Linked DNA regions of Homo sapiens: regions 2 and 3 are each linked to region 1. The links are contacts of gene promoters, found by promoter capture Hi-C in human tissues and cell types (Jung and others, 2019). All regions are on one chromosome and are shown on one strand. The core of a region is centred on a gene start or on the middle of the fragment in contact, and the rest is flanking DNA. Distances in the headings are between cores, read along the strand shown. Region 1 holds the start of DSP (desmoplakin). Region 2 overlaps CAGE1 (cancer antigen 1). Region 3 overlaps CAGE1 (cancer antigen 1).

The links. The method cuts DNA at HindIII sites, captures the fragments that hold promoters and counts their contacts. A contact is called where the count stands out against the background at its distance.
Region 2: a fragment that was not itself captured here is called in contact with the fragment with the promoter of DSP in region 1 in 1 of the 25 tissues and cell types used here (neural progenitor cells).
Region 3: a contact is called between a fragment that was not itself captured here and the fragment with the promoter of DSP in region 1, in 2 of the 25 tissues and cell types used here (liver and mesendoderm cells).

Annotation. Positions count from the first base shown.
Region 1 is chr6:7,540,221-7,542,920 of GRCh38, forward strand. It overlaps DSP (desmoplakin), which reads left to right and starts at 1,451. Exons shown (of 24, transcript NM_004415.4): 1 at 1,451-1,865. The coding sequence starts at 1,696. It overlaps DSP-AS1 (DSP antisense RNA 1), which reads right to left. Exons shown (of 2, transcript NR_183331.1): 2 at 231-833. The HindIII fragment of the contact is 11,377 bases long and covers 1-2,700 here.
Region 2 is chr6:7,384,118-7,386,817 of GRCh38, forward strand. It overlaps CAGE1 (cancer antigen 1), which reads right to left. Exons shown (of 14, transcript NM_001170692.2): 3 at 1,668-1,755. Among named protein-coding and RNA genes, the nearest start is that of CAGE1, 4.3 kb to the right of the region's middle. The HindIII fragment of the contact is 6,466 bases long and covers 1-2,700 here.
Region 3 is chr6:7,340,318-7,343,017 of GRCh38, forward strand. The region is part of intron 11 of CAGE1 (cancer antigen 1); the gene reads right to left. It also overlaps the pseudogene ACCSLP1. Among named protein-coding and RNA genes, the nearest start is that of SSR1, 28 kb to the left of the region's middle. RefSeq lists a silencer at 2,094-2,256. The HindIII fragment of the contact is 7,681 bases long and covers 1-2,700 here.

The sequences.
Region 1 (2,700 bases), core at 201-2,700:
ATGTGTTTACTCCTTGAATTTAAGACGTTCAGCTGTAAAAAGAAAAAGAACAAGACATTTTGTCAAAAATTATGCCTAAAGGGTCAAGTTGTCATGAGAAGTGCTATAATACGACAAATTTTAGAAAGTCCCCCCCACTCCCTTTACAACATAAAAATGTAGTTTTTTATTTTTGTTTTCAGTTCATAAACATTTTGGAAACGCACTGTATCAGAAGGTAATTAGCGGCATTGTTTGGAAAGATGAAAAATTTATTAGAAAAGATCTTTAAATGGCTTTTACTAAAGCGTCATTTAACAATTTTTCATATTATAGAAACAGCTTTTCATGGATGGTGTGACTGGGTCTGTATCCAAACCCGGTTCGGTTCCTGGAGCCAACGGCGTAGTTAACACTCAGCCTCTTGCAGTTAACACTCAGCCTCTTAACTGGGAGTGGCCCTGGAGCAAGTCGCTGGAATGTTCAAGCTCCGCGTCACTCATCGGTACCAAGTTGATGATCTCTGCCTAGGGTTCTTCGCCACCCTCAGGCTCAAGTCCCAGGAGGCCTCCTCCGCTGACTTGGGTGAACAGCTCTGAGTTCCGGAGAGGGTTCGGTCTGCGGAGAAGCGCGCGAGAGACAAGCATCCTCAAGGTTCTGGTACAAAATTTGGAAAATGGACCTGGCGTTGAAATCTTTACTCCTCGTTTAAAAAGACCATCGAAAGGGAAAAAATAAAAGAAATTGCAGTTTATATTTTTGTTATCCCATGAAAAATTAGCTGCAGTGTTTTCCTCTTCATGCCAAAGAGATTAATATTTACGGTGAAGACTTTTCCAGGAAGTCGTGGTTTTCTGTAAAAAAAGGTTTTACACATCAGAAATCGGACTTCTGGGGCAATTTCCTGAATTCCTGGAATAAAACAAAACAAAAAAAAGCCCCCAAACAAAACTCTATCATCTAAAGCGTTCCCTCCTCACTGTGGTCCTAGTCAATGCGTGGTAGGTAGCGTTTCCAGTGATCAACAAAAGTAAATATTTGACCAGTAAGTCTCCAATCGAGAGGCCCCTCCATTCCAGCTATTTCCGCCCGGGGACCGAGGAAATCCTCAAAAGCCGGGCCACGCATTCCCAGCCCGAGAGGCCCCAGCGCAGAGCGCAGCAGCCCCCGCGAGCGCAGGTCCTCCCCGCGGTGGCTTCGCCCAGGGCGCTTGGGTCTCGGGGACCCCGCCCCCGCCCCGCCCGGTGTTACTCAGGCCTCGGTGGCGCAGGGCGGAGTCGCGGGCGGCGGGCGCAGGTGGGGAGGGGCGGCCGGAGCGCGTCGGTGACACCCGCGGGGGGGCGGGGAAGGCGCGGCGGCCGCACCCCACCCTGGGAAGAAACCGGCCAGGTGTGGCCTAGGCGCCCAGTGCCAGCGGGGAGGAGACTCGCTCCGCCGCCGACCAACACCAACACCCAGCTCCGACGCAGCTCCTCTGCGCCCTTGCCGCCCTCCGAGCCACAGCTTTCCTCCCGCTCCTGCCCCCGGCCCGTCGCCGTCTCCGCGCTCGCAGCGGCCTCGGGAGGGCCCAGGTAGCGAGCAGCGACCTCGCGAGCCTTCCGCACTCCCGCCCGGTTCCCCGGCCGTCCGCCTATCCTTGGCCCCCTCCGCTTTCTCCGCGCCGGCCCGCCTCGCTTATGCCTCGGCGCTGAGCCGCTCTCCCGATTGCCCGCCGACATGAGCTGCAACGGAGGCTCCCACCCGCGGATCAACACTCTGGGCCGCATGATCCGCGCCGAGTCTGGCCCGGACCTGCGCTACGAGGTGACCAGCGGCGGCGGGGGCACCAGCAGGATGTACTATTCTCGGCGCGGCGTGATCACCGACCAGAACTCGGACGGCTACTGGTGGGTACCTGCCCGGAGAGCGCGGGCTGCGGGGCTCGCGGGACAGGGAGGGACCGTCCTCCTCTGGACGACTGGGAGACTCGGGTCCCGAAGGTGGAAAGGTTTTTTTGCCCCAGGTCCCGAAAGAACTTCCCGGCCGCGCTGGGAGCAGGACCGGGTGTCCTGACGCGTGCGGGGACAGGTTGGCCCCTGTCCTGCGAACAGGGACTCGGTCGTACCTTTCTCCCCTCCCGCGAGCCCGGGCGGGTGGTCAGAGGGGGCGTCGGGCCCGCGCGGGGCTGTCCCCTGCCTGCTGGACACGGCTGCAGCCGCCTTTGTCCCAGCCCGCGAATGGGAGGTCAGGCGAGGTGGGGCTGCGACCACAAAACCCAACCTCTCCAACCGTAATCAAAGTAAAAGAGGAAAGGAGCGGGGCCCCGGTCCTGTCTGGTGGCCGAGTGGTGCTCGGGGCTCCGCAGTCTCTACCGGCTCACCCCCAATCCCCAGTAACCCCGAGACCACGACTGCAACGACTCCTGGACTCCTCGGCCACCCAAGGACGTTTGTATCAAGGCTGCGCGTCCCGGCGGCGCGGGGTCCTGTCCCGAGGAGGCGCTTCGGCTTCCCCTGTCCGGGAAACGAAACTTCCCCGCCGGGGCGGCTGCCGGGCCCGGGTCTCGAAGTTCGGCCGGGACGTGCCTGTTACCTTCGGTCGTCCGCGCCGCAGCCCCCGCGGGCGAGCGCACCTGGGGCCCTGCCTCTGAGCCTTTTGTTTCCTCCTTTTTAAAAACACCGGATGAAAGACCCCAGTGTGCCTTGGATCGCAGAGCGCCGGCCGCATGTCTGCTTTGATCCA
Region 2 (2,700 bases), core at 140-2,639, 160 kb before region 1:
CCCAGGCTGGAGTGCAGTGGCACCATCTCGGCTCACTGCAAGCTCCACCCCCTGGGTTCATGCCATTCTCCTGCCTCAGCCTCCTGAGTAGCTGGGACTACAGGCGCCCACCATCATGCCCGGCTAATTTTTTGTATTTTTAGTAGACACGGGGTTTCACCATGTTAGCCAGGATGGTCTCGATCTCCTGACCTCGTGATCCGCCTGCCTCGGCAGCGCTTATTTTTCTTACACCTGCATGTATTAAATTCCATAATTTCAATAAGCCTTGTCAAATCTTTTCATTTTAGTATTATTTGCAAGTATTAAAAATAAAGACATTTGTATACAGCATTTAGATTTACTTTAATAAACATGATCAGTGTAGGGCCCGGTGTGGTGGCTGATACCTGTAATCCCAACACTTTGGGACACCGAGGCAGGAGACTCACTTGAGCCCAGGAATTTGAGACCAGCCTGGGCAGCATAGTGAGATCCATTTCAAAAACAAAACCAAAAACATGATCAATGTATCTCATTATATGATTAAATCCTAAATAGCTTTCATCTGTCAATTTAGGATTAGAATAACAGATTTGGGGTTAAATCAACACACAGCTCTCTTTTTTTTTTTTGAGACAAGGTCTCACTATGGTTGCCCATGCTGCAGTGCAGTGGCGTGATCTCGGCTCACTGCAGTCTCAGCCTCCCGCGCTCAGGTAATTCTCCCACCCAGGCCTCCAAAATGGACCACGATGCCTGGCTAATTTTTTGTATTTTTAGTAGAGACGGGGTTTCGTCCTATTGCCCAATCTGATTTCAAACTAGTGGACTCAAGCAATCCTTCTGCCTTGGCCTCCCAAAGAGCTGGGATTACAGGTGTGAGCCACTGTACCTGGTGTTTTTTGTTTGTTTTGGTTTTTTTTGAGATGGAGTTTCGCTCTTGTTGCCCAGGCTGGAGCGCAATGGTGCAATCTCGGCTCACAGCAACCTCCACCTCCTGGGTTCAAGGGAGTCTCCTGCCTAAGCCTCCCAAGTAGCTGGGATTACAGGCATGCACCACCACACTCAGCTAATTTTGTATTTTTACTGGAGACGGGGTTTCTCCATGTTGGTCAGGCTGGTCTTGAACTCCCGACCTCAGGTGATCCACTTGCCTCAGCCTCCCAAAGTGCTGGGATTACAGGCGTGAGCCACCGTGCCTGGCCCCCGCTTTTTTTTTTTAAGAGACAGGTTCTCCTTCTGTTGCCCACTGGAGTGCAGTGACATGATCATAGCTCATAACAGCCTTGGACTTCCTGGCTCAAGCAATCCTCCTGCCTTGGCCTTCCAAAGCACTGGTATTATAGATATGATCCACCACACCCAACCTCAATACACATTTAAGGATACTTGTATAGTAGAAAATTTTTGTGTCTGAGTCTGAGACTTGATCACGGCTCATTCATTTAAAGCTACACAATCCTGGGCAAGTTACTCTCTGAGCCTTATTTTCCTTATCTGTAAAATGAAGATAAAAACAGCCCTTACTTCAATTTTTTAAAATTCTTATTTCAATAAGATTTTTTTGTGGATTAAGTGTGATGATGTATATAAAGTGCTTAGCACAAAACCTGGCTATTGTTACTATCACGGAACACAAAAAAAAGTTTCTCTCTTTTGCATATTGCTAACAAGTAGATACTTACCATTTAACAAATTGTCTAGTGTGCCATAAGCATCTTCACAAAGTGTGGATTCATACTCATTTTCCCTTTCAAAATTCTTTATTTCGTTCTGTATTAATAAAAAAGGCATCAATACTTCAAGCAAACATCACAAGCTTCTTCTAAAGGTATTTGCACATTGTTACATAATTCTGCTATTAGAATATTTCATTACATAGGTAGAATGTGCTTTCTAGTATCTTTCCCCAGCATGTATTTGGCTCCCTTTTAGTAAAACTATGCTAACAGAGTCCCAATATTAAACAACAATGTAACAAATAGCTTGTTATTTTAATATTTTGGTTTTTTGGTAAGTCAAATCATGTGACTATAAACTTAGGGATACGTGATAGCATATTTATGTATTGATAATTATTTGATGTTTATTAAATCTAGTCTAAACAGCATTAAGATGGTTATTTCAGTCTTTTAACACTGAAGATATATAAAACAGGCATATATCTTTGATGTATTTTTATAAATTCCTATTTAGTGGAATCAGATGTCACTGACTATCAAACGTTTAGCACAACACTCATGAAGATATTGGGACATTACAATCTTTTATTTTTTAATAAAGGGAGCTAGGCATTTTCATGAAGACAGGAAAGTTGTCATTTATATGCAGGGTGCTGTCAATGTCATTATGAATGACAACTGAATCATTTGCATACTGATGTAAGTGGAAGATGCATTAGACTAGAAGTCAGGTTCCTTGGGCTCTTGTCCTGCCTCTGACTGAATTGGTCACGTCCCCTGGCTGCACTCCTGGCTAGAAAGGATCAGTTTTAACACTGTGTGTAAAAATGTACCTTGCTCTCTCGCATAGGCTGGAGTGCAGTGGCGCGATCTTGGCTCCCTGTAACCTCTACCTCCCAGGTTCAAGTGATTCTCCTGTCTCAGCCTCCAGAGTAGCTGGGATTACAGGTGCTCGCTTCCATGCCTGGCTAATTTTTATATTTTTAGCAGAGATGGGGTCTCACCATGTTGCCCAGGCTGGTCAAAATGTATCTTA
Region 3 (2,700 bases), core at 57-2,556, 200 kb before region 1:
CCTTTGTCAGATGTACGGAGTGTGAAGATTTTCTCCCACTCTGTGGGTTGTCTGTTTACTTTGCTGATTATTGCTTTTGCTGCGCAGAAACTTTTAATTAAGTTCCACCTATTTATCAGTTTTTTAAGAGAACATAGAATTTATTAGATATTGAATATAAAAATAAACCATCTAAATAGGGGCCCAGGGAGCTTCCTTTATTTCTGTAGGTGCCTCCAGGCCTTCCCACCCCAACCCCAATAAAAACATTTTGCATATATAATATCTAGCAAACACTAAAAAGATGCAAAGCTTCCAAAGACAGCAGGCACTCAGCTTAAGGAGGGTGATGACTGGGTCAGATGAGATCTTCCTGGAGGAGCCCACAATTTTCTTAGTTGCAGCACTGACAAAAATACACCCCAGGCTTCTGGACCAGGGGCTGACATTAGGGGGTCCCTGAGCAAGTGATGGGCTAGAGCTACTCGTTGGGAGGCAGACAGTCTACTCCCTCAATGCATCTTCCAACTGCTTCACTAGCAAAGCCTGCTTCTGTTCCTGCAGCACACCACAGAACTGATGTATGGCCAATTTTAGCCGGGGGGAGCTCGTCTGCAAAGATGAGGTGGAACCGGCCTGGCTCCTTATACATACAGGCTTTGCCACAGGATAACAACAGCTTGTTGTCCAGGAAGCGGAGAGAGGAGCTGTTGCTCTTCAAATGTACAGGGATCCAGGTACTTTTTCAAGTTGATCCAGATATAGAGGCCAGAGCTGCAGCTGTGAAAGGGGATCTCCAATGCCTTTAGCTTGGCAGTGATGTACTTGTGAGCTTCCCACAGCCGGTAGTTATTGGTGGGCAGGTACACTTTGTCAATCCATTCTGTGTTCTGGAGCAGTTGACACAGCTTGTGCTAGGTGATGCCAGAGATACTGTGGAGGTAGCCAAAGGTGCTCACAGCAGAAGCCATCTCCTTGTGGTGGGTGTAAACAGAGTACCAAAGAGGAAGCCAGAGATGCCAAAATCCTTACTGGTGTCCCAGATCACATGGGTCCTGTTGTGATCAGGCAGACTTTTCATGCTTAGGACACTGTGGAATGTGATGGATTCATCAAAAACACAGATAGCATGTAAATCTCATCTATGATCACATGTAGGTTATACCTCTTGGCAAATTCCAGGTATTCCATCGCGAGTCTGAGGAGTAGATGTCACCCAGAAGATTCTGAGGGTTGATTAGCACAAGGCCTCGGACCTTTTTCCTCTCAGGCCTAGCTTTAAGCAGGGCTTCCTCTAACTTGTCCACAGCAAGGTGGAACAGATGGGTGTTTGCAACAGTGATCTCACTCTCCAGGTGGACAGGAATCAACTCAACCTTCACGTACAGGCAGGAGCTAAAGTCAAAGCCACTATAGAAGGGAGCAGGCGCCAGGAAGGCCTCGCTTGGATCACACAGAACCATGGCCAGTGCAGAGAAGACAGAGCAGCAGCCATTTAGAACAACCACATTTTCTGGATCAAGTCGGGCAGGTGCCTTGCACTAGTAGGTCAGGAACTGGGCCACTTCTTCTTGCAGGAACGGGTGCCCTCTCCAATCAGGGTACTGCAGCAAGATGTCCTCAATGCCGTTCGTGTCACTTTCTTGCAATCTTTCAGTCATCAGATCTATGCAGAGCTTGTTCTCACTGGTGCCAAGGTTAACGAAGCTCAAGGTGTTCTTGTCCTTATGATATTTGTCTTTTTGGTAGGCATTGTAGTCCTGGAAGCTCGACTAATAGAAGACAGAGATGTCAATCCCACAGTTGGATAGGTCACGGCTGATGAAGGCAGCTTCACAATCACTCAGTTGGGGAACTGGATCAGGCTGCCTGGACAGTTGGGCCCCCTGCCCATATCTGACATCACCCCTAGAGTCCTGGGAAGGAAGAGGCACTTGGAGCTCCAGGCCACTTATGGCCCCAGACTATAGGAGCTGGATCATCTGGCACATTAAGCGACCCAGAAGGGCTTCATGCTCACGGATGGCCTGAGTGTGCCTCCATTCTTCCAGCGGCAGGGCCCTGCCTGCTCATCAGCTGCATGAAGTACTCCCTCATGGTCTACCGCAAGTGCAGCATCATCTCAACAGCTGGGTATAGATGCTCTGGTCTCTGAGGACCTGGCCTCTCATCTGGCCAGATGGCACAGGAAGGGTGTCTGACTGATGACTCATACTCCGGGTATCTGTAGTGGCTCCTGCAGGCTGGCTGTCACCTCTGTCTCTGTTTTCACTTATCTTCTCTCCAGTCTAAAGCCTCACTGAACAAACTGTCCTTGACTGTCAGTGCTCAGGGAACTGCTCTGCCACCCTTCTCCTCAATGAATGTGTTAATCATTGTTTTTGTTGCATTTGCTTTTGGGTTCTTGGTCATGAAGTCTTTGCTTAAGCCAATGTCGAGAAGGGTTTTTCTGATGTTATCTTCTAGGATTTTTATGGTTTCAGGTCTTAGATTTAAGTCCTTGATCCATCTTGAGTTGATTTTTGTATATAAGTTGAGAGATGAGGATCCAGTTTCATTCTTCTACATGTGGCTTGCCAATTATCCCAGCACCATTTGTTGAATAGGGTGTGCTTTCCCCACTTTATGTTTTTGTTTGCTTTGTTGAAGATCAGTTGGCTGTATTTATGCCAACCCTTTTTTCATTAAAAAAGAAGCCTGGCCAACATAGTGAAACCCTGT